2 separate regions of the Homo sapiens genome follow, and region 2 is linked to region 1. Evidence: promoter capture Hi-C in 16 types of primary human blood cells and fetal thymus (Javierre and others, 2016). All regions are on one chromosome and are shown on one strand. The core of a region is centred on a gene start or on the middle of the fragment in contact, and the rest is flanking DNA. Distances in the headings are between cores, read along the strand shown.

The links. The method cuts DNA at HindIII sites, captures the fragments that hold promoters and counts their contacts. A CHiCAGO score of 5 or more calls a contact.
Region 2: a fragment that was not itself captured here is called in contact with the fragment with the promoter of SOD1 in region 1 in 1 of 17 cell types (fetal thymus); the score reaches 5.0 in fetal thymus.

Annotation. Positions count from the first base shown.
Region 1 is chr21:31,657,618-31,661,364 of GRCh38, forward strand. SOD1 (superoxide dismutase 1) reads left to right here and starts at 2,076. Exons shown (of 5, transcript NM_000454.5): 1 at 2,076-2,224. The coding sequence starts at 2,153. SOD1-DT (SOD1 divergent transcript) reads right to left here and starts at 2,407. Exons shown (of 3, transcript NR_187558.1): 1 at 1,780-2,407; 2 at 317-478. RefSeq lists silencers at 1,689-2,008, 2,279-2,558 and enhancers at 2,719-2,918, 3,418-3,747. The HindIII fragment of the contact is 11,893 bases long and covers 1-3,747 here.
Region 2 is chr21:31,205,978-31,209,724 of GRCh38, forward strand. The region is part of intron 11 of TIAM1 (TIAM Rac1 associated GEF 1); the gene reads right to left. Among named protein-coding and RNA genes, the nearest start is that of TIAM1, 140 kb to the right of the region's middle. The HindIII fragment of the contact is 278 bases long and covers 1,652-1,929 here.

The DNA of each region.
Region 1 (3,747 bases), core at 826-3,325:
GCACTCCAGCCTGGTGACAGAGTGAGACTCCATATCAAAATAAATACATAAATAAATAAAAACAGTGATTCTTAACTGGGAGTGATTTGGCAACGTCTGGAATTATTTTTGGTTATCCCAGCCTGGCAGGGAGGGACAGGGTATTACTGGCATCTAGTGAGTAGGGGCTAGGGATTCTACTGAACATCCTACAGTGTACAGGACAGCCTCCACAGCAAAGAACTGTCTGGCCCAAAATGTCCATAGTGCCCACATTCGATGCCCTGCATTAGGAAGATATAAATACTCTTAAATATCACAGAGTTAAATTCCTTACCCCTGTTCTAGCAGAGATGATATTCTTGCGGGGGGAGCATCTTCTTGGCTTCAACACATTCTTTTCTCCATGGGAGATGATGCCAGAAGAGGGACAGAACAGGGCCCAGTAAAGCATGGGGCCTGGGGCCAGGGACCCCCTTGTTCAGGTGTGACGACCATCCTACGAAGGCACCACCCAGGCATCATTAGACCGTCTCAAAAGAAGAGTAATTCACTGTCCCAAAGCAGCTCTCTCGTGTCTGTGGGCGGATCCCTTGGCAAGTTTACAATGAACTGAAATCTGCCGAACTTCCTGGAACCCAAAGAAACTTTAGCCTTGGGCAAAGGCCCTTTGGCCAGCATTTGCACTGTTTATGCAACCGTTTAGAATATACGAATTATCTGGAGACTACTACCAAATACAACAGGCAAAACTGCAAATATGTATACTTCCTAGAGGATGATAAAAAAATGTGAATTGTATTTCTCTGATAGAGGATGCATTAGAGTCTGAGGGTCTAAATAGCGTAAATAATAAATAAGTAAATAAATCGATAGTAGTGTACTCCAAACGAGGCTGGAATAGCTTCTATTGTTGTTTCACACTGGACTTCAATTAAGTCTCAGTATTTTGCCATACTCAATATTAAGTACTAGGCTGGACGTGGTGGCTCATGTCTGTAATCCCAGCACTTTGGGAGGCCGAGGTGGGTAGATGGCTGGCTTGAGCTCAGGAGTTTGAAACCAGCCTGGGCAACATGGTAAAACCCCATCTGTACCCAAAATACAAAAATCAGCCAGGTGTGGTGGCACATGCCTGTGGTCCCAGGTACTTGGGAGGCTGAGGCAGGAGGATGGCTTGAACCCAGGAGGTGGAGGCTGCAGTGAGCTATGATGGCGCCACTGCACTCCAGCCTGGGTGACAGAGCGAGACCCTGTCTCAAAAATCAAACAAACAACCCCCTCGCCCCGGACAAAAGTAGTTTGCACTATTTTCTCATTTCACAATATGTTTTTGAAATATTTCCCTTGAAAGGTAAGTCATATTTATCATTCCTGTTGTATGGAGGCATCATAAATTATTTCACCATTCTACCCTCCTTGAGTGTTGTGGCCTTTAGGCCAGACAAAAACGCAGGTGATGCCTAGAAGCCAACTAGTTGCCGTTTGGTTATCTGTAGGGTTGTGGCCTTGCCAAACAGGAAAAATATAAAAAGAATACCGAATTCTGCCAACCAAATAAGAAACTCTATACTAAGGACTAAGAAAATTGCAGGGGAAGAAAAGGTAAGTCCCGGGATTGAGGTGTAGCGACTTTCTATACCCTCAGAAAACTAAAAAACAAGACAAAAAAATGAAAACTACAAAAGCATCCATCTTGGGGCGTCCCAATTGCTGAGTAACAAATGAGACGCTGTGGCCAAACTCAGTCATAACTAATGACATTTCTAGACAAAGTGACTTCAGATTTTCAAAGCGTACCCTGTTTACATCATTTTGCCAATTTCGCGTACTGCAACCGGCGGGCCACGCCCCCGTGAAAAGAAGGTTGTTTTCTCCACATTTCGGGGTTCTGGACGTTTCCCGGCTGCGGGGCGGGGGGAGTCTCCGGCGCACGCGGCCCCTTGGCCCCGCCCCCAGTCATTCCCGGCCACTCGCGACCCGAGGCTGCCGCAGGGGGCGGGCTGAGCGCGTGCGAGGCGATTGGTTTGGGGCCAGAGTGGGCGAGGCGCGGAGGTCTGGCCTATAAAGTAGTCGCGGAGACGGGGTGCTGGTTTGCGTCGTAGTCTCCTGCAGCGTCTGGGGTTTCCGTTGCAGTCCTCGGAACCAGGACCTCGGCGTGGCCTAGCGAGTTATGGCGACGAAGGCCGTGTGCGTGCTGAAGGGCGACGGCCCAGTGCAGGGCATCATCAATTTCGAGCAGAAGGCAAGGGCTGGGACGGAGGCTTGTTTGCGAGGCCGCTCCCACCCGCTCGTCCCCCCGCGCACCTTTGCTAGGAGCGGGTCGCCCGCCAGGCCTCGGGGCCGCCCTGGTCCAGCGCCCGGTCCCGGCCCGTGCCGCCCGGTCGGTGCCTTCGCCCCCAGCGGTGCGGTGCCCAAGTGCTGAGTCACCGGGCGGGCCCGGGCGCGGGGCGTGGGACCGAGGCCGCCGCGGGGCTGGGCCTGCGCGTGGCGGGAGCGCGGGGAGGGATTGCCGCGGGCCGGGGAGGGGCGGGGGCGGGCGTGCTGCCCTCTGTGGTCCTTGGGCCGCCGCCGCGGGTCTGTCGTGGTGCCTGGAGCGGCTGTGCTCGTCCCTTGCTTGGCCGTGTTCTCGTTCCTGAGGGTCCCGCGGACACCGAGTGGCGCAGTGCCAGGCCCAGCCCGGGGATGGCGACTGCGCCTGGGCCCGCCTGGTGTCTTCGCATCCCTCTCCGCTTTCCGGCTTCAGCGCTCTAGGTCAGGGAGTCTTCGCTTTTGTACAGCTCTAAGGCTAGGAATGGTTTTTATATTTTTAAAAGGCTTTGGAAAACAAAAATACGCAACAGAGACCGTTTGTGTGACACTTTGCAGGGAAGTTTGCTGGCCTCTGTTCTAGGTCATGATTGGGCTGCAAGGGCAGAGAAGGTAGCCTTGAACAGAGGTCCTTTTCCTCCTCCTAAGCTCCGGGAGCCAGAGGTTTAACTGACCCTTTTGGGGATTTTTGAGGGCAGTGATCTTAACTTTGGGTGCACAGTTAGCTTATTTGAAGATCTTACTAAAAATACACCAGAGCCCAACCTCCGACCAATTACATCAAAACCTGTCCTAGTGCAGGGTGAGTATTGCTGTTTTTTGAAAGTTTCCAAAAGTGATTTTGATGTGCACCTACGATTGAGAACTGTCGTTTGAGGACAGTGGGTGGAGTTTCGTATTTGGAAATTAGAAGACCTGGAGTTTCCATTACACCGAATTGGCACTTAATAACTGTTGTCGGAGCATTTCTTAAGCCACATTTTCGTAAAGTGGCTTTAAAATTGCTCTGCCAGTAGGCAGGTTGCTAAGATGGTCAGAGACAAACTTCTGAACGACTCTTGTAAAATATACAGAAATATTTTCAGAACTTTTATCAGTAAAATTACAAAACGTGTTGCAAGGAAGGTGCTTGTGATAACACTGTCCCCAGAACCTTAGTGAAGTTACCAACTGGTGGAAAATTTTCTCTTGCACTCGGCTTAAAAATCATGAGGGAATATTTACTATACGAATGAGATTCAGTCTTTAAAGGGGTTTACAGAAACGTGAGAGGACAGGAACAGTTAGTCTGTGTAAATGTCTGAAATATATGTGAGGGAGATAATGAGTTTAGCCTTTTTCTTTAATAGGTCTCCAGATTTTCTGGAAAAGGTTCTTTGGCATTTGACTCCATTTTGCTGTTTCATTTGTCAGACTTCTTTTTGTCCCTCTTTACTTCTCCCCACATAATTCACCAGT
Region 2 (3,747 bases), core at 541-3,040, 450 kb before region 1:
ATAAATAAGTAAAAGGAAAAAAAGATTATTGCCACAAACCATCATATTTTTCAAACTTCTTTAAGTTACAATAATGTCTTGATAACTTTAAAAAATAAAAATCAGCACAAGCAGCAAACATGAAAATTATAATGGTCTTACTTGTAACTTAAGAGCCCTAATTTTGGTCAGTAAATAGTTACTCTCAAAACAGGACATTGGATCAAAATATATACCAGTGTGTCTTACTATTTTGGTAAAAGTTTCTGAATTATGAGCCCTTGTTAATCACGGCTGGTCTAACATAAAAATAAAATCCTAATGAATTAATTAAATCAGATCATCAGAACGATCAAGAAGAATTTTATGCTCCTTAGATACCTGTTAGTCAATATCAAAGCAAGTCAAACAACTAACCATGTTCAGAATACATCTTTGTGCAAAGGAATTTCAAATGTTAATGAATATTTAAACATAGTAATTCTAAATGTGTGGCCTTGCTTTAGACATAAAACATTCAAGTGAAAACTCAAAAGAAAATTGAGACTCGTAAAACATTCAAGGAAAATTCAGTTAGGAAAAAATTTAAATGGTATAAATTTGTTTTCCAATGTACATGTACTTAAGTTACTTAGCATTTGATGCATTTTGAGGCAATGCAGCCGCAAATTATACCCTAAGTATTATGGTACAACAATTTTTAGTTTAGTTGGCATAATTTTTTAAATTCGCATCTTACTATGACTATTTCAAAGGATGAAACAGCAAAACACAATGTAGATATTTTCAGTAAATAGTTTGCACCAATTAAAATAGATAACATGTCTCAGAATTTACTGCCTTAGAGCTCCTAATCCATTATGTTTTGCTATTTTTCTTCATATTCTTCCATTTCAGTCAAACTTCTAGAAGACATACAAACATGCAATTACTGCATACACAAATGCAAACATGTAGTCACTGCATACAGAAATATGTATACACACACACACACACAAAGTGCTATTGTAGAATTTCTAAAGATATTTTCCCTCCCCTTCAAAGTAACCTTTTCTTTCTCTAAACGCCAATGGTTATAGCATATCCAAAGCCACAGAATGACGTAGTAAAAGCATGAAATAAAACTGACACATGGTCACATGTGAATAATATCAGTAGGTATAAATGAATGAAAATATGTTGCAATTATTTTTGTAGTTGTAACGATCAGAATATATCCAAAACCTACAGGGCAACATGGTTACCTGCTATATTTAGCAACAATCATTCCAGTAACATCTGTGACATGAATTGTATATGAAATGAAGATCTTGAAACATTTACTATACCAGAACTTGACTGGTGCTCAGATGGCAGATGGCAAACTGATGTGAAATGATGTGGATCAGATAGAATAGGAAAGAGAATGAGCTGAATGCAAGAGACAGAAGAAACAGATTGATTATTAAATATTAGAGAAAGCATCTATCACCAAACATTGAGAATAACAATAATGAAACAAAAGACAGGCATTTTTACAATCATGTTTGTTTTCAATGAGGAAAAAAAAACCATTCGCCATTATATCAGATTGTTAATAACATGGGACACTGTTTTCCCCATTATCTCCTTCCCTCTTAAGAATAAAATCAGATCCACTAATTACAATAAGGTGTTTTCCAAGGAAGAAACAAGCTTTAGAAGGCACCTGGCCCTGAGCATACTATATCACTTTTCCTACATGGGTGCTTTTCCAAAGACCATCAATTTCTGAAATGCACACACAAGTCTTCCAGTTTTAAACTCATGAGATTTTTTATGTGTGTGTATTTTTAGTACAGATGGGGTTTTGCCATGTTGGCCAGGCTGCTCTCGAACTCCTGGCCTCAAGTGATCTGCCCTCCTCAGCCTCCCAAAGTACTGGGATTACAGGTGTGAGCCACCGTGCCCGGCATAAACTCATGAGATAGAAGCTTGTTCCACATCACGTTGTTTTTGCTTTTATTTCTATGTCTTGGGAAAAAGACCTGAAGGCCCAGGGAAAATTGGACAGGACTAACTTTTACTGTTGGAGAAAGGGATTTTGTACCTTAATGATGCCATCAGAAACCTTTCAGGTGACAGAAATAAACACTTTAAAGGGGATCAGGTCCACTACATTATCTAGATATGGTCTCTAACTGTCAATGACAATACTATTCTTCATTCCCCTAGTTTCTTCCAAAGCAAAAGCTTGAAACATACGTAAAGTGGGCCAATCATTCATTGCTTCACTCACTGATCAATCTTCCACCAATCAATGGTAATCGGAAAACTTTGGCTTAACCTTCGATTCCTGATCCAGTTTAAAGCCAATGTGCACAGGATGCTCCAAAGCCATGTTATTCTTCTGGAAACACCTTCCAGAGTTCGGCTTATACAAAAAAGCCAGAAAGTTCTACTTTTAACACCTTCATCTGCAGATCTGACAATAACTCTTCAGCTCTGCAGAATGTTAATGGGTCTCTAAAGAATTGTGCTAATTATAAATAAAGGAATGCAGAAATCCTCTACAGACCAATTTTGTTAAGTAATTAACATGAAAAAATTGTGAACTGAGATACCATTATCTCCAAAAGCTAGAACCCTCGTACATGAAGGATTCAAAGCACACAGAGAGGTGATACCATTTATTTTTAGCATCCATGTCAGGGCTGACTTTAGTTATGGCCCAAAACAAGTGATTCTTCTATTTTTCCTCCACATACATAAGACATTTTAAGAGGCTAATTTGAGCTGAACTGTCCATTTCTCTGATTCATATGAAGAGCCATGTTTTTTCTTTAAAAAGCCGTCTGTGATTTGCTTTTTTGAAAATACAAAAATTGCTGATAGTAGAACTACAAAATTGAGGTACTTGCGGAGGTAGTGAAAGTCATTCAGTATTTACAAACATTGTGTTGAATGATGAGATCTTTAAAACGTCATTTCATCCATCCAACTTCTTCTAGGATAAAATTGTGATAGAAAAGTTTTTCATTTTTTTTTTTAGCAGCCCCAAAGAAGACCAATTCACTCCCCTAAGAATATATTCTAGATTCTTCTGAGCCTTACTGATTGTCCTTCCTGAAGACTAACCCAGGTTCTGAGAGTTCTTGTGGACACTCGGCACTGCAGGATGCACCCAGCTGTAGAGAAGCCAGACGTGGGTTCAGTCTCTCCTTTGCAACTGACTGTGATGTGAGTTCAGGCAAGCAGCTAAGGCCCTCTGAGCTTCACTTCCTCCATGTGTACAATGGCAAAGTCTCAGCTCTTTCTCAGGCTCAGACCTGATACGACTACGACATAGAACTATTAATGCTATTCATTATGTAAAAATAAAAACAAGCATGCAAGTAAAGTTCTTCTTTCCTCTCTCTCCCCTCACTCAAGACCATTCACCTGGCTGCCCTTCACGGGGAAAAATGAAACCAGGTTCACTTTGAAAAAGATCAAGGCATTTCTTCCATGGTTTAAGGTGAAAGAGAAAAGGAGCTCAATCATTTGTCATGTTTCTAAAAAGGCTAATTCTGTGTTCACAAAAGAAGAATTTCCCATCAATGGAGGTCAAACTTATATTTCCTTCCATTTTCCCCAATTCTAAAGATGCCCATAGTGTATCGGTTACTGATTAAAGAGCAGGTGACAGAACAGTACCCATAATATGATGCCATTGAACACATGTATCTGTATGTGTGCGGAAAAAGGAATGAATGGTCAAACGCCAAAATGTTTGCAATGGTTATTTCTGGATTTCGTGAATAAGAGTGG